Regions from separate parts of the Homo sapiens genome. Here all the other regions are linked to region 1. Evidence: promoter capture Hi-C in 16 types of primary human blood cells and fetal thymus (Javierre and others, 2016). All regions are on one chromosome and are shown on one strand. The core of a region is centred on a gene start or on the middle of the fragment in contact, and the rest is flanking DNA. Distances in the headings are between cores, read along the strand shown.

What was found. Contacts are between HindIII fragments. The CHiCAGO score rates a contact against its expected background, and 5 or more counts as called.
Region 2: a fragment that was not itself captured here is called in contact with the fragment with the promoter of WNT8A in region 1 in 6 of 17 cell types (total CD4 T cells, activated CD4 T cells, total CD8 T cells and 3 more); the score reaches 8.6 in total CD4 T cells.
Region 3: a fragment that was not itself captured here is called in contact with the fragment with the promoter of WNT8A in region 1 in 4 of 17 cell types (naive CD4 T cells, naive CD8 T cells, total CD4 T cells and 1 more); the score reaches 7.8 in naive CD4 T cells.
Region 4: a contact is called between a fragment that was not itself captured here and the fragment with the promoter of WNT8A in region 1, in 1 of 17 cell types (naive B cells). The highest score is 5.7, in naive B cells.
Region 5: a fragment that was not itself captured here is called in contact with the fragment with the promoter of WNT8A in region 1 in 2 of 17 cell types (total B cells and naive B cells); the score reaches 10.1 in total B cells.
Region 6: a contact is called between a fragment that was not itself captured here and the fragment with the promoter of WNT8A in region 1, in 1 of 17 cell types (total B cells). The highest score is 7.4, in total B cells.
Region 7: a contact is called between a fragment that was not itself captured here and the fragment with the promoter of WNT8A in region 1, in 1 of 17 cell types (total B cells). The highest score is 5.2, in total B cells.

The regions. Positions count from the first base shown.
Region 1 is chr5:138,082,503-138,085,632 of GRCh38, reverse strand. WNT8A (Wnt family member 8A) reads right to left here and starts at 1,600. Exons shown (of 5, transcript NM_001300939.2): 1 at 1,350-1,600; 2 at 997-1,135. The coding sequence starts at 1,505. The HindIII fragment of the contact is 12,012 bases long and covers 1-3,130 here.
Region 2 is chr5:137,619,435-137,622,564 of GRCh38, reverse strand. It overlaps KLHL3 (kelch like family member 3), which reads left to right. Exons shown (of 15, transcript NM_017415.3): 15 at 439-3,130. The coding sequence ends at 467. Among named protein-coding and RNA genes, the nearest start is that of MIR874, 27 kb to the left of the region's middle. The HindIII fragment of the contact is 4,842 bases long and covers 1-3,130 here.
Region 3 is chr5:137,640,364-137,643,493 of GRCh38, reverse strand. All of the region lies in intron 8 of KLHL3 (kelch like family member 3), which reads left to right. Among named protein-coding and RNA genes, the nearest start is that of MIR874, 5.7 kb to the left of the region's middle. The HindIII fragment of the contact is 6,724 bases long and covers 1-3,130 here.
Region 4 is chr5:137,662,001-137,665,130 of GRCh38, reverse strand. KLHL3 (kelch like family member 3) reads left to right here. Exons shown (of 15, transcript NM_017415.3): 7 at 3,100-3,130. Among named protein-coding and RNA genes, the nearest start is that of MIR874, 16 kb to the right of the region's middle. The HindIII fragment of the contact is 3,612 bases long and covers 1-3,056 here.
Region 5 is chr5:137,759,137-137,762,266 of GRCh38, reverse strand. No RefSeq gene overlaps it. Among named protein-coding and RNA genes, the nearest start is that of HNRNPA0, 6.3 kb to the right of the region's middle. The HindIII fragment of the contact is 157 bases long and covers 1,580-1,736 here.
Region 6 is chr5:137,781,727-137,784,856 of GRCh38, reverse strand. No RefSeq gene overlaps it. Among named protein-coding and RNA genes, the nearest start is that of HNRNPA0, 29 kb to the right of the region's middle. The HindIII fragment of the contact is 982 bases long and covers 1,116-2,097 here.
Region 7 is chr5:137,798,038-137,801,167 of GRCh38, reverse strand. No RefSeq gene overlaps it. Among named protein-coding and RNA genes, the nearest start is that of HNRNPA0, 45 kb to the right of the region's middle. The HindIII fragment of the contact is 175 bases long and covers 1,452-1,626 here.

The DNA.
Region 1 (3,130 bases), core at 351-2,850:
AAGCGATCCTCCTGCCTTAGCCTTCCAAAGTGCTGGGATTATAGGCATGGTTCCAACACGTGCTTAGCCACTTTCTCCGTCTTCTTTACTCTCGTTCCCCTAACTATTCTCAGGTGAATGTTATCTTCAAAAATGACATGCAAACTACGGCACACAGTTACAAATGGGTGCACGTGCACACCCATACACACACATAGACACACACCCCACCTGAGGCACAACTCAATGTGACGTCTCAGCTTTTCTGTTGAGATTTTATGGCAGTTAGCCATGTGAAACTTCCTCAGGAGCTGCAAACACACAGCCCTTTCCCCATTTTTATTTCATGCAACTCAGTGCAAGATCAGTGTGTACAAACGCACAAATATAGGCATGCATTTAAAAAATAGAGTAATTTCCGCTGGGCACGGTGGCTTACGCCTGTAATCCCAGCACTTTTGGAGGCTGAGGTGGGTGGATCACCTGAGGTCAGGAGTTTGAGACCAGCCTGGCCAACATGGTGAAACCCCATCTCTACTAAAAATACAAAAAATTAGCCAGGCATGTTGCATGCCTGTAATCCCAGCTACTCGGGAGGCTGAGGCAGGAGAATCACTTGAACTCCGGAGGCGGAAGTTGCGGTAAGCCGAGATTGCGCCATTGCACTCCAGCCTGGGCAACAGAGTGAGACTCCGTCTCAAAAAAAGAAAAAAAAAAAAGAGTAATTTCCTACATTTATCTCATACATAGAGACACCTCATACCCACCTCATTCAACCCATAGGATACTTCTGATGAACTAAACAGAACTGGCCTTACTGACCCAAATGACAAATCTGGGGCTGAGAGAGGGTAGGTAATTTACTCAAGGCCACACAGCAAGGAAATGGCAGGTCAGCAGGTCACTGGCAGCATTTTTATTTCACTGTGCAATACATGTCACACATATACACATACTGCAAGCCCCACTCCATTCACATATATACCCCTTGTACAGGTGAGTCCCACACAAACTTACCACTTCTCAGCCTGTTGTGGGTGGAGAGCTGAAGAGCATTTTCAGGGCAGTTCCAGCGTTCCCAAGCAAACTGGAACTTGCACTCCTCGATGCCACTCTGGGCACCCAAGGCCACACTAGTCGTGTAGGTCAGATAGGCCTGGCAAAGGGAAAAGGGCTGTGAGCTTCTGCCCGGTATGGGTCATCTGTGGTTGGGGGAGCAGGCAGGACTCAGATGGGCCAGCTCTCCATTAAGAATCAACCATGGGTTCCTCTGGGTGAGGGGCTCTGGCACTGTCCCCGCCCCTCTTTTCTCCAGAAGAGTCCCCTTAGGGCCCTCAGTGGGTAAAAACAGAAGCTGGAGATCATCCTACCTTGGGACCTGTTATCAGGAAATTGTTCACTGACCTACCAAAAAGAGAAAAAGTGAGGCAGAGGTGAATGGGGATGAGACAATGGGGGCCTCCTTGGCAAGGAGTGAGGGTTGGGAAAGGACTTACCAGGCAGAGGCACTGAATGCAGCACAGCATATGCCCAGAGCTGCCCAGAGCATAAACAGGTTCCCCATCGCCCTGCCTACCCCAGTGGACCAGGTCCAGCTCAGGGCCAAGTCCAGAGAAGTGAGGAGAGGGCAGGGTCTTCCTCAGTATTTATGTGAGAAAATTCTGAATGTCCAAGGGAGGAAATCAGCAGCTCTTCTCATTTGTTCCTAACTGGCAGGGCTGCAGGAGCCACCGGCCCAGTGGGGGATCTGGGAGGAGGGACTCAGTTTTCGCCAAAAGCCCCGCCCTGCCCAGCCCCTCCAGCCCTTCTTCCCTCCCAGAATGAGAAGGAGGCTGCTTTTCTCCTATACGTGAGATTTCTTTCTTCTATATGTCAATTTTGTCTCTTCCTGCTTCTTTGGCCCATTTCTCAGAATCATGTAGGCCAGAGCAGGCTGGGTCCTTAACCCTGAAGGCAGGTCACCTATTCTTGGAGCTACAGTGTCCTCATCTGTCAGTGAGAGCCCACTCTCTGTCCTGCCATCCTCCCCAAGGTGTTAATAATCATAAAGCAACTCCATCTGGGGCTGCTTCCTACTCATTTACCTAAACCAGTGAGTGCGCCATCCCTACCACTTCCTTCAAGGCTGTGAGGTGATGGAGCTGTGGGACTATGGAGCAGGAACACTTCAGAGTCCATCTCTGCAACAGTCCCTTCCACCACATTCTAGCAACTGCTGGGAAATTTCCTTAATTCCTAGCAAATCTATCCTTTTATATCTGAGGGTTACAACTCCAGTTAGTTGATTTTTTATATATCTGAGAACCAACCTTAGGGCCACCCAGGGTTATATTTGGGAAGACTGATGCCTTTCTCTTTTTTTTTTTTTTTTGAGACAGAGTCTCTCGCTCTGTCGCCCAGGCTGGAGTGCAGTGGTGCAATCTCAGCTCACTACAACCTCTGCCTCCTGGGTTCAAGTGATTCTCCTACCTCAGCCTCCCAAGTATCTGAGACTACAGGTGCCAGCCACCACACCCAGCTAAATTTTGTATTTTTAGTAGAGAAGGGGTTTCGCCAGTTGGCCAGCCTGGTCTTGAACTCCTGGGCTCAAGTGATCTGCCCACCTTGGCCTCCCAAAATGCTGGGATTATAGGCATGAGCCACTGGGCGTGGCCCTGATGCCTTTCTTTCTGATACTACTTTGTTACTAGGACTTCAGCTCCTTAGGTGGGAATCTGTCTTTTATTTTATTTTATTTATTTATTTATTTATTTATTTATTTATTTATTTATTTATTTTGAGATGGAGTCTCACTCTGTCGCCAGGCTGGAGTGCAGTGGCATGATCTCGGCTCACTGCAACCTCCACTTCCTGGGATCGAGCAATTCTCCTGCCTCAGCCTCCGGAGTAGCTGGGATTACAGGTGTGCGCCACCATGCCCAGCTAATTTTTGTATTTTTAGTAGAGACGGGTTTCACCATGTTGGCCGGGATGGTCTCGATCTCTTAATCTCGTGATCCACCTGCCTCGGCCTCCCAAAGTGCTGGGATTACAGGCGTGAGCCACCATACCCAGCCTTATTTTATTTTATTTTTTGAGGCAGAGTTTCACTCTTGTCACCCGGGCTGGAGTGCAAGTGTGCCATCTCAACTTACTGCAACCTCCACCTCTG
Region 2 (3,130 bases), core at 326-2,825, 460 kb after region 1:
CCATGAAGGCAGCCTGCTGTACTTTCCGCTTCATTCCAGTGTCTTCTAAAAGTAGAGATGAATCACCCATTGCTTCTCTTACAGTGATTCAAATTTAGAACTGCATAGCTGCCCCTGGGCGCTGAGCATTGTTGGGCTGGGTGCTAGGGCTGGGGATGGGAGTCACCACAGTGAGTCCATGTGATGACACAGGGTGAGGCCACTAGTCAGTGGTGTTTGAGGGACTGTGCTCGTAGGTTCAAGTGTCTTGCCAGGACTTGGCTGTTGGAGTGGGGAACAGCCAGCTGCTAGCAGCCTGAGTCCACTTCAATATTAGGATAAAAATTGCACACATTTCCCTTGGCTGTGACTCAGGATATCTTGGATTCATGAACTCACTGGGACTCTGAGTAATTTTGGAGAAGCTAAGATGATAACTTTCTCCCCCTTTCTTATTAGGTGTTGCCGTGATTCACAAGTCCTTGTGACCCAAACTCCTACTGCCAGGAGGTGGAGGAAGGAGCAGGTGCTGCCTGTGACTCTGAACAGCAGGACCTTGGTGACTGGATTCAACTTGCTTGGGAGGGTCTGTGCTGCTGTGAGAACCGCTCTCCTCTGACTTGGCAGACTGGTGTTGTTCATCGCAGTGTGGACACCATTACCCACCCCCGTTCCCCTGAGGTGCTCTGGCCTATGCCCTGAGCAAGGGGGGTCTTGACATCCCCAGGCAGCACCTTTGGGCTTTGTTTTGGTGTTTCTACAGGGACAATACAGACCCTGGAGTGTGTGTGTGTGTGTGTGTGTGTGTAGACCATGGTGTTTCTCTATGTTTCTCTAAGTTGGGGGGTGAGCGTGTGTGACAGTCTACTGGATTTCTTTACTACTGATCCTTTCGCTGTGTTAAAAATCAAGTCACAGAGACCTCTCTTCTGGATTTGTCCCATGGGGACCCTGAGACTACTAAAGCTGCTTTCTTCTGAAGGTCCAGTTGGACAGTCTGGGAATGTCCAGAAATAACCAGTGAGAGGGGCAGTTCTCTGGCCACACCCACTTATGTACTTTAACTACTGTGACTTTGTCTGCAGAAGAGCTGGAAAATTCTCGAAGCTGCACCGTGTCCTCTGTGTGCTAGAATAAGGGACAAATGGGTTCCCTGTGCTTCTCAGCTCACTGTTTTTCCTTGAGTTCTCCTACAGGAAGCAGATGAGAACTGCCCAGTCTTCAGGTTTAGGCCATTGGTCTTTGATGTCATAGATTCCAGGCCTGGGAGGTGTTATGTCTCTTCAGCTGGGAAAACTAGCTCTTCAGAGAAGCCTCGGGTAACACTGAAAAACAAAACAAAACAAAACAAAAACAGGAAAAAAACAAAAAACCAAAGTGGTAAGGATTCAGTTCCTGCCTATAATGGTCTCAGAGAGGGTCCTACTTTTAGGTTTTCCCAGGACAGGACAGTCCCCATTTATACTTATTATCCCAGTTTAATTATTCACAGCACCCCATTTTACTCAGAAGTGTTCTGGTCTGGAGGATAAATAAGAGGTCACCCTCCTCCAGACCCAAAGATAGATTTGTGCCTGTGTTGGATGGGGTCGTGTGTGATTCAGATGGACATTGGATGGCTTCAAAGGAATATACCACTAGAGCTGGCCCTTGGCACTTTGTGACAGTGGTCAAGTCTGTCTAATGTCCTTGTCTTCTTTTTCTTGTGCTTTCCCCCTATTCCAGGGTGTGCACCCTCTCCCCAACCCCCAAGAACCCCACTACTGCTTTCCCTGTGAGGTAGGAGATATCAGTGGGCCTTGGATTTGAGGCTTCCTAAGATGTGCTTGCATTTTAAAAAGGGAGCTTGGTGAGAGCTTTGCTAATTCACAGGTAAAAATTATTAACAATAGAACTTCAAGCATCTTGAGGAGCGGGCATTTGAGGGGGCATGGAGTAATTTGTATTTAAAAAACCTTAAAGTTGTGCTGTTCCTAAACTAGCAAATTGCTCATGCTGAAATTTCTGGCATAAGCAGGGGAAGTCTTGTGTCTGGAGAATAGTCTCATACCTTGCAGTCTGGGACACCCTCCCTACTTTGAGAATCCACCTACAGGAAGCCAAGGAACTTTATAAATCCTGATGTTGGACTTCTGATACGACTGGGCTACTTCCAAGCAGGTGCTGCAGGAGATTGGCATCCCCCAGCCCCTGCAGTTAGAAACCCCGAAGTCTTCCCAGCCAGTGAGCCACTTTGTGTATTTACTGTATATTTATTGTGCCCTAAATGTGCAACTCTCCTAAAGACAAAACTTCTCTTTCTGATGTTAAGCACATGTTACTTCAACAAGATGCTTGGAGAACAACAAGGTACCCAGAATTTTTAGAAGCCTTCAGAAGAGGCTAAAATATCCAGCTTTGGGGGACCTGGAAGAAATGTCTCCAAAGGAAGCAAGGCATGTTTTAGTTGAGTGCTCTGGTCTCACTATGAAGTGGGGATGACTGTGGCTTCATAACTCTACCTGGCTGTGGGTTGGAAGCTGATGGAATGAGAAATGTCCTTTCTCCTTCTCTGAGGAAATTTTGAGACTTGTTTCGGTGTGTCTGTGTGATGGGGATGAGGCTGGGGTTGGGATCTGATGTATGCCATTCACAGAAGCTCTCAATTTCAGATGATAGGTGAATTCCCTGCCCCTCCCCCACCACTGAGAAGCTAGACTTTCATGCGGGAGAGGCTACTTTTATGTGTCGTCTTCCGGGGAAGGGTCCCTCCACTGAAAGCTAGCCAGTCATGTTTTCTGTTTTTGGATTTTTGCAATTGGTTTCACCTCATGTCTCCCTCCCTACAAAGCACTGCCTCTACTGGGCGTGCTGCCAAGGCCATGTGCACTCCATCCTCATGTATCCTTTTTCACGGGGACCAGAACACTGGTACGTCATCACCAAAGCCAATCTGCTCTAGCTGCCCACAGATGCCACCAAAACCTGCTATCTCTTCATCACCAGGTACGATTCTCTTTCCACAGTGGACACAGCAGGCTATTTTCTAGTTTGTGCTGGTCACGTGGTAGATGAAGCCTCTTACTGCCCCACTTAGGGTGGCCACGGCTGCTTGTGAATGCAGCTTTGCCAGTGGCATATCTGTCATCTGATTGCGGTGGTGAAATGGAAT
Region 3 (3,130 bases), core at 377-2,876, 440 kb after region 1:
AAAACCTCATAATTCATTTTCCCAGATAGTTGTACAAGTTTTGTTTGTTTAAAGTTATCTCTTACCAGTGGTTTTATGAGCTCAAAGCCAAGTTTGTTTTGAAAACCTTATCTTGTATTCTATTTTTTTTTTTTTTTTTGAGACAGGGTCTCACTCTGTTGCCCAGACTGGAGTGCAGTGGTGCTGCAATCACAACTCACTGCAGCCTCAAATTCCTGGGCTCAGGTGATTCTGCCACCTCAGCCTTCCAAGTAGCTGGGACTACAGGCATTCACCACCACACCCAGCTAGTTTTTTGTATTTTTTGTAGAGACGGGGTTTCACCATGTTGCCCAGGCTGGTCTTGAGCTCCTGGACTCAAGAGATCCACCCGCCTCTGCCACCTAAAGTACTGGGATTACAGGCATGAGCCACTGCACCTAGCTGTCGTGTATCATTTTTGTATTTCTACTCAGGCTTTACTTTAACATTAAAAAATTTGCATTTCTGTAATACTGTTTCTGTGAAAATTCTCAGAGATGAGTGGTAGATTTTCTCCAATATGCATGTACCCTCTACTTCCCTGGTGGGAGATAGTTTCTGGGGCATGGTGAGGGTTCCTGAAAACTTTGCCTTTTTTTTTTTTTAATTTACAAAAGAAGCTGGATAGCTTATGCCAAGTATAAGCAAACTTTCTTTTGGTGGTTGAGTCAAAAGATGGGAAAAGCTCTCACTTTCTCTTTTTATTTTGCTTGCTTTTTCCTCACTGTCTCCAGAATTTTAACCTGGTGTTCCAACATATTTTAACTAAAGAAAATGACGTTCTAGTTTAGTTTCTTTTTTCATTTTTAAAAACTCTGTATTGTTTGTTTAACTCCTTGCATGTGCTATTTACTTTTTATTCATGTATTCTTTATTCCAAATAAACACTTGAGCCCTCACTTTTACCTGGCAACATAAGTATATGGAGTTATCTTGGTGACTGAGGCAGATACGTTTTCTGCCTGGGCAGGGCTCACTGTCTAGAGGTGCAAAAGACAAGACACTGATGGTCCAGCACAATGCAGAACACACAGGGCAGGTGAAATCTCAGAGGACGGATATGTAGTTCTGACCTGGAGGCCAGGGAAGTCCATTTGTAGGAAATAACATTTAAACTGAGACCTGAAAGATAAGCAGGTGTTAAGGCAGAGTGCTCAGAGATGGGAAGGTTTCGAGTCAGGGAACAGCATGTGGGAGGGTGTGGGGTGCCTGAAGTCCTTGCAGAAAGAAAACTTAAAACTGCTTTTATTCTCACTCAGCTTCAGAAATCAGATTTCAAAGAAAATCCTTGCAGTATTTTCCTTCAGTTTAGCTTTACCAACTCAAAACCGGAAAGACAATGCAAGTTCTGGGCATATTTACGAACATGTCATTCTGCCCTTGAAGAGTAGGTTAGGCATTATCTGGTGTTTGCCAAGGGGCTGTGTTCATTAACATCCCCCTTGAACTGTTCATGGATGCCTGTCTAAGCAAAGAATTACAAATGGGAAGTAATGTAGAATTCATGTTTACTCTGAAAAAGGCTACTCTTGACACAGAGCAGTGGACCCTCTGAGCTGAGGCACCCAGGAAAGTCAAGTTTCTGTCTGGAAGCAGCAGCAGCAGCAGCTCGAGGCTGGGTTTTGTGTCCTGGGTTCCTTTGGAATGCTTTAGAAGTCAGAACTGATTTCTGAATTTTTGAACACTGGTTACCCACTTTTGGTGACAGACAGCTATGGACTAAGTCTGATGACCAGTGACCACCCACATGGCAGTGGGTGAGCCTGTTCTGGAATATTGGGGAATAAATGGTTGATCTGTAGTAATGGTGGTGAGCTCTGGTTTTGCCTCCCGTATGGTGGGAAGTGTTCACTTGAGGGATGTGCCTTTGCGAGTTCACACAGATTTTGATGGGCACTTCTCTCCCCAAAAATACATCATGGGGAAGTAAAAAGCACTATGATAATTCATAATGGCAAAAGTTGTTCATGGCATATCATCAGGAAATCCATACAGAGCATGGATTAAAAAGGTGGTTCTCAAAGTATGAACCCTAGAGTGGCAGCAGCAGCAGCACCTGGGAACTTGTTAGAAAGGCAGCCTCTGGGCTCCACTCCAGATCCACTGAATCACACTCTGGGGATAGGGCCCAGCAGCTTGTGTTTTCACAAGTCCTCTAGGTGATTCTGATGTATGCTCAAGTTTGAGAACCACTGGGTAAATAAGACAAGCTACAGGTAATGATCAAATGAATTTGCTGGTTGTGACTTCCACCCTTTCTCTCCACTCAAGAAAGCATATTGGAATGCCGTTGAGTGAGAGTGACATCATTGTGGGGACAGCTATGAATTTGTACATGTTTATTAAAATATGTAAACTATAGGTAACTGGTACTTTAATTTTTTATTTATTAATAACATGTGACCAAAGACACAGCAGTGATACCATAATTAAGTACTGCAGTTCTATTAACCTAACCAGAGCAGTAGTTTTCATTGTGTTTGACCATGCCCTTGCAATACAAAATGCATTTAAATTGCTATCCAGAAGACACATGTAAGTGTGTATAGCCAAAACCAATATTTCATGAAATAATATTCTTATCATATTTTCTGTGCTTTTAAAAATATATGTGCTGGTCATAATCCATTAAATTGATTTCATGACCTACTAATGGAAAGCGACCTGTGTTTTGACAAACATAGATGCAGCAAGCTGTGTTTGCTTGGATCCTGTCTCTAGAGCAGGAGTTGGGGGGGGTGGCTGGCCTCACCCTCTGTCAGGTAGACTTGGGTTTCAGTCTCTGCCTACACTCTTAGCTGTGTGACCTTGGGCCACTTACATGTGTTCTCTGAGCTTTACTTTGCTATCTGTCAATGTGGATGATGATATCTACCTCACAGTTGTGGTGACAAGTAAATGACAACACATTTCACATGGTACCTAGCAGTGGTAGCTACTACCTTACTTGTGGAAATAGGACTGCTAGCACTAGTTTCCAGAACATCATCAGTTTAATAACTTTTGTAATAAACATCTCACAGGAGTTTTTCAATTTTTTTCTATACTGCAGTGCATAAGTGCACCCTACATTCTAGGCATTCAGAAATGCTTTTGAGTAATACTTTAA
Region 4 (3,130 bases), core at 1-2,500, 420 kb after region 1:
GTCCTATAGAATGTTGCAAACATAGAGTTGTCTGATCGTTTCCTCACCGTAAGATTCAGGTTATATATTAATATTTTAGGAAGAATTGTACTTAGGAGATACTGTGTCTTTTCAATTAAATCACAATCAGGAATATAAGTTTGTCCTCTTATGGGTGGTGGTAAATTTGGTCCCTTGTTTAAGGTGTTGTCTATCAGATCTCTCTATTTGAGGATATTTTCCCTCCATGTAAATAGTATGTAATCTGTTGGGTGATTCTTTGAGAATTGTGACTCTTTCCCCATCCAACAACTTTATTATTATTATTTTTTTAAAGATAGGCTCTTGCTGTGTTGCCCGGGCTGGAGTGCAGTGGCATGGTTACAGCTCACTGCAGCTTCCACCTCCTGGGACCAAGTGATCCTCCTGCCTCAGCCTCTCAAGCAGCTGGGACTACAGACACGTGCCACCATGCCTGACTGATTTTTTTTTTTTGTAGTAGAGATGGGGTCTTGCTAAGTTTCTCAGGCTGGTCTCAAACTCCTGGGCTCCCACCTTGGCCTCCCAAAGGGCTGGGATTACCAGTGTAAGCCACTGCACCTGGCCTTTAACAACTTTCGATTTTAGCATCCATTGGTGATCTTTGTTCAATCAGTTATTACATTGGTGGTATTGCAGAAATGGTGTTTTTCTAATTCCGTCATTCCTTTTACAGGCATTTTTTTTTGGATATAAGAGACCTTCTTACACTTTTTTAGTATCCATATGGGCGCATGAATTATTTTTTTTAATTTTTTTTTTTGAGACAGGGTCTCACTTCGTCTCCCAGATTGGAGTACAGTGGTACACTCATGGCACACTGTAGGCTCGACCTCCCAGGCTCAAGCAGTTCTCCCACCTCAACCTCACTAGTAGCTGGGACTATAGGCATGCACCACCATGCCTGGCTGATTTTTGTATCTTGTAGAGATAGGGTTTTGCCATGTTGCCCAGGCTGGTCTTGAACTCCTGGGCTCAAGCAATCTGCCTGCCTTGGCCTCCCAAAATGTTGGGATTATAGGTGTGAGCCACCATACCTGGCCATATTATAATTTTTAAAAAAAAATTAAGAATATTTTATATTGAGGTATATGGATATTAAATACACAATTTGGTTAGTTTTGACACATGTATATGCCCATGTAATGCCCACCCTAAACCACAAAAGGTTTCCTTTGAACCTTTTTCAGCCATTCCCTGACCCTCCTTCCCCTCAAAGAGGCAGCACTGATGTGATTTCTTCATTATTCTCACTGATATTTAAATTGTCCCAAATATTGGCATTGAAAGCCCCATCCAGCTGGCTCTTTTTGACATGTCTTCTTTAATCACGTATAAGATGTTTGCTTTATTCTTTTTAATAGCGAAAATAGAGTTGGCACTCTGTATCCGTGAGTTCCATATCCAGGGATTCAACTAAGGAAATATTCAGAAGAAAAAAATTCCATAAAGTTGCGAAAAGCAAAATTTGAATTTGCTGCAACACCAAGTACTACATCATATCCACTTGCATGAAGTGATGTATGGGTATTATATTAGGTATTATAAGCAATCTTATATAATTATTTAAAGTATATTTATTATTAACATACTTTAAATATATATATTTAAAGTATTTAAAGTATATGGGAGGATGATTTAAAGTATATGGGAGGATGTGCGGAGGTTATGTGCAAATACTATGCCATTTTATATAAGGGACTTGAGCATTGGCAGATGTTGGTATCTGTGGGTGGTCATAGAACCAGTGCCCTGGGGCTGGGGCTGGTGGCTCACGCTTGTAATCCCAGCACTTTGGGAGGCTAAGGCAGGCGGATCACTTGAGGTCAGGAGTTTGAGACCAGCCTGGCCAATATGGTGAAACCCCGTCTCTACTAAAAATACAAAAATTAGCCGGGTGTAGTGGTGTACACCTGTAATCCCAGCTACTAGGGAGGCTGAGACGGGAGAATCACTTAACCCGGGAGGTGGAGGTTGCAGTGAGCCAAGATCGTGCCACTGCACTCCAGCCTATGCGACAGAGTAAGAACCAAAAAAAAAAAAAAAAAAAAAAAAAGAACGAGTGCTCAAGGATACTGAGGGATAACTGTATCTAATGGTATGGATACTCCTTTAATAATTTCTCTATTAGTGGACTTTAGGTTGTTTCATTTTTTTATCCCTTTACAACCATGCTGCAGCAAAGATATTGGAGCACATATTCTGTTCTCTTACACTGATGTGAGTATAAGCTAGAGCTCTAGAAGTGGTATTTTTAAAGTCAACGAGAATGCACATTTAAAATTTTGATCGATATTGCCAATACTTCCCTCCCCTCTTAAAAATCATTATTAATGAAATTTTTACAGACACTGCTGGTTTCCCCATTGCCCCTCCAACGTTGAATTTTATCTGCCTATGTGTATGTGGTGGCACAGGGTTTGAATTTGGACTTATCCTTGAGTAGAGTGAACATCCAAAGTATAGGTCTGCCTTTTTGGTTCTAAGCCCTCCAGTTTTGATTTGCATAGAAATGAAATCTCTCCTCAAGGAGAAATGTTTGCCATTCCTTGTCATTCAGTGTCACATTGACCATCACAGCCAGCTTTGGGCAGAGGGCATTCTTACTGTTTTTATTCTACATTAACTTTACACGGGACATAAGTGAGGAAACGGGGGCATGGGGAGATGACGACATTGCCCCCAGGGTCTGATCTTCCTGAGCAGCCTCTATAAATTTGGTTCACAGTTACTGCTCTGTATTTTTACCCTTAAAAAACTATTGGAACTGGTTTTTATTTTAGAATGAACCATGATGATTCTACATTTGGGATAGCAGGTTTGTCCTTGTGTGTGTGTGTGTGTGTGTGTGTGTGTGTGTGTGTGTGTGTGTAGAGTGTGTGTGTGATCACTCTCTGAGGCCAGCAAGTAAACAAACCCTTTCTGTTTTTATTTTAAATATGAGTCTCAGATTAATTAAACACCTTTGTGGATGACTCATAACTTTTTCTCTCTCTCTTTTTTTTTTTTTTTTACAGATTGAGGGTTGTTTGAAAGCTTTTGTCTCTTTACTGAAGTTGCCCATGTTGCTTTTCTTTATAGGTGTTTGAAGCTGTGATCTCATGGATCAATT
Region 5 (3,130 bases), core at 409-2,908, 320 kb after region 1:
CTATTTATTAGACAGCTATTTTGGGACAATTAGGTCATTTCCAACTTTTTTTCTAGTATAAACAAATTAAAATAAATATCTTTATAGCTAAATCCTTGTATAGGTCCTGAATTATTTCGCTGTGATAAATTTCTGGAAGTGTAATTGCTGGTTCAAAAGAATGGGCCAAATTTAAAAGCTTTTGATATGAGTTGTTAGGGTCCACTAGAAAAAATATACTTTCACCACAAGTGGCAAAGAATGCCCTTTTGAAATGTTCACCTTGAATAAATAAAAATGGAACCTGTACTAGTTTGCTAGTGCTGCCATAACAAAATATTACAGAATGAGTGGCTTAAACAATAGAAATTTATTTTCTCCTAGTTCTGGAGGCTGGAGGTCAAAGATGAAGTGCTGGCAGTCTGGGGTTCTTCTGAGGCCTCTCCTCCTTGGCTTGCAGATGGTCGTCCCTTTATGCACTTGTGCTCCTGTTGTCTTTCTTATGACACCAGACATATTGAAGTAGGGCCCCACCCTAATGACATCATTTTAATGTAATCACCTCTTTCGAAACCTTATCTTCAATTATGGTTACATTTGGAGGTACTGGGAGTTATGGCTTGAATATATGAATTTGAGCGTGGGGACCAGGGGTGCACAATTTAGTCCATAGCAGAATCCTAACTGTAAAACAAACATGGATCCAATAAAAAGCTAATTTTAAAAAATCACAGTTGCTGCTTTCTGGAAATATAGCTGGCCATAGTCTTTCCTTTCTTTCTCAGTTCATTCTTTCTCTGTCTACGTATAATTTAATATTAAAACACACTCTTTTTAGTGTGTGGTTCTATGACTTGTGTAACCATCACATTCCATTAGCTTTTTGTAATCAAGCTTGCAGGAGGGATGGAAGCCAAAGGCAGTCTAAATTTCAGTTTTATTTTTAAGTGTTTTATTTTGGAAGGCTTAGACACCTGTAAGCGAGTTAAAGAAACAAAGTAAACTCAGGCAGTGATCTAAAAGGCAAAGTAGAAAAAAATAGTTTTTCCTCCTTAATGACGTAGAGTAGGAAATTGACTGCATCATTTAAGTGTTTACATAATACTCCTTTTATTGACTGTCCCTACCTTTACTGATCTAATCTCCAAAAAGAATCTAACATTCTGGCCTGGTGTGGTGACTCATGCCTGTAATCCCAGTACTTTGGGAGCCAGAGGCAGATGGATCACCTGAGGTCAGGAGTTCAAGACCAGCCTGGTCAACACGGTGAAACTCTGTCTCTAATAAATATACAAAAATTAGCTGAGAGTGGTGGCACATGCCTGTAATTCCAGCTACTCAGGAGGCTGAGGCAGGAGAATCGCTTGAACCCTGGAGGCGGAGATTGCACTGAGCTGAGATTGCACCACTGCATTCCAGCCTGGGCGTCAGACTCTTGTCTCAAAAAAACAAACAAACACAAAAAAACTTAACATTCCAGTCATACTGCATATATCCTGGCTTTCTTAATGTCTCTACAACATTCTTGTATTGTCTCTGATCATCCCTATACCCTACTGTATGTAAGGTGTCTAGACCTGACATTTACCTCTGTGAAGCTTTATTAGCCAATAGAAATGAAAACCCTAATGGATCCCCATTTAGGTGGCATAGATCAGGGGTTCCCACCTCCTGGGCCATGGACTGGTATCAGTCTATGGCCTGTTAGGAACTGGGCTGCACAGCAGGAGGTGAGCGGTGGGTGAGCGAGTGAAGCTTCATTTGTATTTACAGCTGCTCCCCATGGCTCACATTACCACCTGAGCTCCGTCTACTGTCACAGCAGCAGCGGGATTAGATTCTCATAGGGCATGAACCCTATTGTGAACTGAACATGTGAGGTATCTAGGTTGTGCACTTCTTATGAGAATCTAATGCCTGATGATCTGAGGTGGAGCTGAGGTGGTAATGCTAATGTGGGGGAGTGGCTGCAAATACAGATTAACATTAGCAGGGAGGTCTGACTGCACAGAGACCATAATAAGTCGCAGACTCATATCAAAACCCTATCAGTGAGTGGCAAGTGACAATTAAGCCGTGGCTGGCAGTAGGCTTTATAGTGGCAAGTGAATTGATGTACTTCAATTGTACAGCTACATCTGGTGGCAGGCTGTCAGAATCTGACACTTAACTTTAGTCTGAGCATGGCCTGCCCATTATTTTATTTACCACTTCCATCCGTGCCTCTTTCCCATGCTATGCACTTGTCTCAGTCATAGTTTTGGTAAGCCCACAAGCTAACCCTAGCCAAAATGAGTAAAAAACAAATGTCACTGGAGAGCTTCTTTGTCAAGGGGGACAGACTGAATGATGAGACATCAGAAGACATTAAGACTTCCATCAAAAACAAAGCTGCATTTAAAAGAAAATACCAAGAGTCCTACTTAAATTACAGGCTCATTGCAACAAGTGATTAACATTCTACAAGCCCACTTTGTATAACATGTGGCAACCGGCTATCCAACAAAGCCATGAAACCTTCAAAACTGCTTCTCCACATGGAAACCTAGCACCTTGCATTAAAACACAAGGCTTTTGAGTTTTTCAAATGAACACAAAGAACAGAAGCAACTGGCCAGGCATGGTGGCTCACACCTGTAATCCCAGCACTTTGGGAGGCTGAGGTGGGTGGATTGCTTGAGGCCAAGAGTTTGAGACCAGCCTGGTCAATATGGTGAAACTCCGTCTCTACTGAAAATACAAAAATTAGCTGGGTGTGGTGGTACGCACCTGTAGTCCCAGCTACTCGGGAGGCTGAGGCATGAGAATCACTTGAACCCAGGAGGCAGAGGTTGCAGTGAGCCAAGATTGCACCACTGCACTCCAGCCTGGGTGAAAGAGAAAGACCCTGTCTCAAAAACAAGCAAACAAAAAACCAGAAGCAATTATTGAAGGCCACCACTTCATCAAATGTATCTGCACTGAGAGCATCATTCTTAGTGGCTAACTGCATTGCTAAAGCTAAGAAGCCCTTTACCGTTGGTGAAGAATTGTTCCTGCCTGCTGCTAAGGACATTTATCATGAACTTTTAGGAGAGGCTGAAGTTCAAAAGGTGACACATGTTCCTTTTTCGGCTAGTACCATAACTAGACAAAGTGATGAAATACAGAG
Region 6 (3,130 bases), core at 357-2,856, 300 kb after region 1:
CCTTTGCTTACAAAGCTTAGTTTGGCTGAATATGAAATTCTGGGTTGAAATTTCTTTTCTTCAAGAATGTTGAATATTGGCCTCCACTCTCTTCCGGCTTATAGGGTTTCTGTAGAGAGATCCGCTGTTAGTCTGATGGGCTTCCCTTTGTGGGTAAACCGACCTTTCTCTCTGGCTGCCCTTAACATTTTTTCCTTCATTTCAACCTTGGTGAATCTGATGATTATGTGTCTTGGGGTTGCTCTTCTCGAGGAGTATCTTTGTGGTATTCTCTCTATTTCCTGAATTTGAATGCTGGCCTATCTTGCTAGGTTGGGGAAATTCTCCTGGATAATATCCTGCAGAGTGTTTTCCAACTTGGTTCCATTCTCCCTGTCACTTTCAGGTACACCAATCAAATGTAGATTTGGTCTTTTCACGTAGTCCCATGTTTCTTGGAGGCTTTGTTTGTTCCTTTTTATTCTTTTTTCTCTAATCTTGTCTTCTCACTTTATTTCATTAAGTTGATCTTTAATCTCCGATATCCTTTCTTCCTTGATTGATTGGGCTGTTGATACTTGTGTAGGCTTCACGAAGTTCTCGGGCTGTGTTTTTCAGCTACGTCAGGTAATTTATGTTCTTCTCTAAGCTGTTTATTCTAGTTAGCAATTCCTCTAACCTTTTTTCAAGGTTCTTAGCTTCCTTGCACTGGGTTAGAACATGCTCCTTTAGCTCAGAGGAGTTTGTTATTACCCACTTTCTGAAGCCTACTTCTGTGAATTCGTCGAACTCTTTTCTCTGTCCAGTTTTCTTCCCTTGCTGGTGAGGAGTTGTGATCCTTTGGAGGAAAAGAGTTGTTCTGGTTTTTGGAATTTTCAGCCTTTTTGTGCTGTTTTTTCCCCATCTTTGTGGATTTATCTAACTTTGGTCTTTGATGTTGGTGACCTTTGGATGGGGTCTCTGAGTGGACGTGCTCTTCCTTTCCGTTTGTTAATTTTTCTTCTAACAGTCAGGCCCCTCTGTTGCAGTTCTGCTAGAGTTTGCTGGAAGTCCACTCCAGACCTTGTTTGCCTGGCTATCACCAGCAGAGGCTGCAGAACAGCAAAGATTGCTGCCTGTTCTTTCCTCTGGAAGCTTCGTCCCAGAGGGGCACCTGCCAGTTGCCAGCCAGAGCTCTCCTGTATGAGGTGTCTGTCAGCTCCTACTGGGAGGTATCTCCCAGTCAGGATACACGGGTGTCAGGGACCCACTTGAGGAGGCAGTCTGACCCTTAGCAGAGCTCGAACGCTGTGCTGGGAGGTCTGCTGCTCTCTTCAGAGCCATCAGGCAGGGATGTTTAAGTTTGCTGAGGCTGCGCCCACAGCCACCTCTTCCCCCAGGTGCTCTGTCCCAGGGAGACGCTGGTTTTATCTATAAGTCCCTGACTTGGGATGCTGCCTTTTTTTCAGAGATGCCCTGCTCAGAGAGGAGAAATCTGGCAGTCGGGCCACAGTGGCCTTGCTGAGCTGCCTGAGACAATTGTTCTTGGCTACAAGGATCAATAACAAGAGTGGTACTAGTCAAAGGTTGCACAGGCAGTTGCTGGGCAGATGTCCTCACAAAAGTATTTTTTTGTGTATAAGTTTGTGATGGCCTTTGTGCAAAGTTGTGGTTTTTTTCAGGGTCTTTTGTAATAGTTCTTGTTATCAGGCACTGTGCGTGAGAACCCTCTTTTCATGGGCTTCCCTGGCTCTTGACAGAGGCTTTAACACATGTGACTTCATTTGATTCTGACAACTTTCACAGTTCTTGGGTACTTCATGTATGTTATGCTAGCATAGTTGGTATTTTTGAGTTTTTTTATTTTTTGATTCTAATGTGTAGAAATACAACTGATTTTGCAAATTTGTGTCATCTTGCTAAAATGTCTCAGTAATTTAGTAATTTATCCTTAGATACTCTTAAATTTTTCACATTCGTGATCCTATCATCTACAAATAATGATAGTTTTGTTTCTCTTTCCAATTCCTATTCTTGTTTTGTTTTTTTTTCATATACTTGCCTTACTAGGCTGGCTAGGCCCTCTAGTACACTGTTAAATAAAAGTGGTGTTAACAGGCATTATTTAAAGGCAAAGCTTTAAACATCTCACTGTACTTGTAGTAAATATTACACTTAATGTCCTCACAGAAGTATTTTTGTTTGTATAAGATTTTGATGGCCTTTGTGCAAGGTTGTGGTTTTTTCAGAGTCTTTTGTGATAGTTCCTGTTGTCAGGCATTGTGCATGAATATTTATTTATAGTGTTTCAGACTAAGAAAATTATCTTTTTTTTCCCAGTTCATTAAGAGTCTTTAAAAAATATTGAATATTTGTTTTTATCAAATACACTTTCAATCATTATTAGGTTGTTCATGTTTCTTCTTCTATTCTGTTATTGTAGGTAACAGTATTAATTGATTTTCTTCTCCTAAATCAACTTTGTATTATTTAGACAAACCCATGTTTTATCCTTTTTAAATATTATCCCTTTTTATCCTTTTTCTATATTGCTATTTTCTGTGTGCTAATATTTTGTTTAGGAAATTTGCATTTATGATTTTTAGTCAGCTTACCTGTAAGTTCCCTTTTTCTTACTGTCCTTAGTGGAGTTTTTTTTTTTTTTTTTTGAGATGGAGTCTTGCTCTGTCACCCAGGCTGGAGTGCAGTGGTGTGATCTCGGCTTACTGCAACCTCTGCCTTCTGAATTCAAGTTATTCTCCTGCCTCAGCCTCGTGAGTAGCTGGGATTACAGGTGTGCCTTACCATGCCTGGCTAATTTTTGTATTTTTAGTAGAGACAGGGTCTCGCCATGTTGGCCAGGCTGATCTCGAACCCTGGCCCCAAGTGACTCCCAAAGTGCTGGGATTACTGGTGTGAGCCACCACACCGGGCCTCCTTAGTGGATTTTGATATCAGAGTTATGATAGCATCATCGAACGAGTTAGAGAAAATACTCCCTTTTTCTGTTTTCTGAAAGGGTTTGTATTATTGGTCTCATTTCTCCCTTGAATGTTCATAGAACTTGCTGGTAGAGTCTGGGCCTATAGTTTTCCTTTTGGGAAGATTTTTGGGAAAAACTGAATGCTTGTAGGGTGAATTAGTTACTATTGGCTTCATTTGGTAATTTACA
Region 7 (3,130 bases), core at 290-2,789, 280 kb after region 1:
AATCTCAGCAGCAGTGACATGAGGTGGAGCTGTTTAAAAGATATTTTCAAAATGTCACTTTCAGTCATCTTGTAGAGATGATAATAAGAGTGCCTCTTGAAAATCTGTGGCATTTTCTGGCATATATATATGTATATATATATATATATATTTTTTTTTTAAATTAGCACGGCCAAAATCAGACATTTAACTTAAATATTCCTGGAAAATTATTAGTAAACATTAATGGTTGTTCTTAGAGCATTTACTGTTAGTTAAGAGATGGACACATAGAGGGCAGCAGCACACACTGGGGCCTTTCAGAGGGTAGTGGGTAGGAGGAGGGACAGGATCAGGAAAAATAACTAATGGGTACTAGGCTTAATATCTGGGTGATGAAATAATCTGTACAAAAAACGCCCATGACACCAGTTTACCTATGTAACAAACCTGCACTTGCACCCCTGAACTTAAAAGTTTAAAAAAAGAGATGGTGCTATTCCAGATTTTGCAGTAATTTATAAGATTAATGAAGATACTTTTGAAATTGAAATTAATGCCAAGTTTCTGAGCAAGTATGTATTATAAATATAAGATTTTTATCAACTACTTTGGAGCTGACAACAGCTGAGCTGCTTATAGACTATAGATGAAAGTGGGGACTAAAAAGCGCTTTTCCTGTATTTGAAAAATTATTACAAGAAGGGGCCTACTTCTCATTTATAAAAGACTCAAAAAGTAAGATTTATATTAAATATAAGAAATATTTCCTTATAGTGAGTGTTTGAAGACTTTAGAAAACAAGGTTGTAGAAGATTGAGTATGGTTGAAAATATTTGTGGCATGGTCTAGTGGATGAGCACACAACATTTTCAAATACTACATTTCCTAAGCCAAGGACTCAGTGATAGAACCCTACATTTTAGGGCCAGGCTGTGTGATTCAATCCTGTTTCCCTACCCAAATACATCAAACTACCCTAAAGAAACTCAAAATTTCCAGGCAGTCAACAACATTGACATTGTGTGTCTGTGTTTTATAGAATCCTGCTGGGTCACTGGCTGGGGGGACTTGCAGGTAGAGTAGGAGTGGGATGTGTACTATGGACGTGAAGCCAATCTCCTCCTCTGTAAGAACCTGAAGAGCAGATACTATCAAAGCAGTTCAGTGGCTTGTATTTCTTTCCCCAGTCAACTTTTAGCAATGTCCCATTACTTATTTACCTGTTTGTATTTAAAATACAGAGAGTAGCAAACTTTGGAAGATTGTAGGGCTATTGGAAAGTACCTTTTCCATATATAGAGTATTGGCAAAAGCTAGTGGTGCCACAGGTTTGGTGGATATTAAGAGATCATTTTAGTTATCTGTGATCATGATGATTTTGAGAGTCAGCTTGAGTGGGAGAGAGCTAGGTCTGAATTTGGATTCTCCAGCATTACCTAGCTGGGTGATCTTGAGCTTCTCTCTAAGCTTTTATTTTTATTTTATTTTATTTTTTGCCATCCAGTTCTACCCCAAAAGGAGGAAGCAATAGATCTTCCTTTAATAACTTCCCAAAGTGTTACAAATAATAAAAACAAGCATAAAGCATCGCTGGGGTGGCTGAACGCGGAGCAGGGAAGGATTTGCTCCTCTGCTCTCTAAGCTTTTGATTCCTTTCCTATAAGGTGAATATAGCCACCTATCCTGCAGGATTATTTTGAAGATTAATGATAGAACATAGTAGATATTCAATAGATAGTAGTTATTACTGTTGCTGTTGTTTAGAATTTCGCTTAGTAGAAACATAAAATTTGAGTTAATAACAGAGTTTATTGTTTATTATTCTAAAGGAAGTCTGTAATGAGTGTGGGAAATTGAGAAATGACAAAACCAGAGTCATTTTTAAAAAAACTTTTAAGGGGATGTTTGGTGTAAATCTGTGTTCTGAGGTGAGGGGTCCACTGTTGTTAACATTTTTGCTCACCTAGGTACACATAGAGAGCTATTATAATCTGATGTAAACAAACGATGAGGAGCTAACACACAATGTCCATTTATTTTTTTTCCTTTTCAAAGACACTTCTTTGTCATCAAGGTTGGGTGTGCTTAGGAATTAAGGTATATATATAAAGGGAAGCCTACTGATTAATACTTCTGTTTTCTCCAGAATCACCAGGAAATACATTAATGCCTTCAAGAAAGATTAAATGGGAAAAAGGAATGTTTGGATGGAAAGACCGAATATTATAAAGATTTTGTTTCTTCCCAAGTTAAATTGTAGATATAATTCAATTTCAATGAAAATCCCAAGAGAGGTTATAAAAAATTACTTATAAAGTATTTGTAAGTGAAAATAGCTTTGAAAAATGGAATAATTAAAATGAAAAGCATGATTAACAACACCAAATATTTTAAAATATTATAAAGTGTGAATAATTAAATCAACGTAATGCTGGGCCAAGAATTAGCAGACAGATCAAGGAATGGAATAGACAGAAATAGACCCTGGTATATATAACGTGTTAATATATGACAGTGAAAGCAGTAAGGATTGCTTTTTTTTTTTTTTTGAGATGGGGTCTCACTCTGTCACTGAGGCTGGAGTGCAGTGGTGTGATCTCAGCTCACTGCAACCTCTGCCTCCTGGGTTCAAGCAGTTCTCCTGCCTCAGCCTCCTGAGTAGCTGGGACTACAGATATGTGCCACCACACCCAGCTAATTTTTGTATTTTTTGTAGAGATGGGGTTTTTCCATGCTGCCCAGGCTGGTCTCGAACTCCTGGCCTCAAGTGATCTGCCCACTTCTGCCTCCCAAAATGCTGGGATTACAGGCGTGAGCCACCGTTCCCAGCCAGCAGTAAGGATTTCTAGGGAAGGAAAGAATTATTAAGTAACTGTTGCTGGAATAGTTAACTAGCTGCTTAGAAAAAATATTAATTTAGTTTCGTACTATACACTAGAATAAATCCCAGGTGAAAGAATTTGAGAAAACAGACTCAAAAAAATATTAGTAGACAATATAAGAAAATACAGAAAATAGGTGGCTCACACCTGTAATCCCAGCACTTTGGGAGGCTGAGGAGGGCGGATCACCTGAGGTCCCAAGTTTGAGACCAACCTGGCCAACATGGTAAAACTTCATCTCTACAAAAAATACAAAAATTAACCAG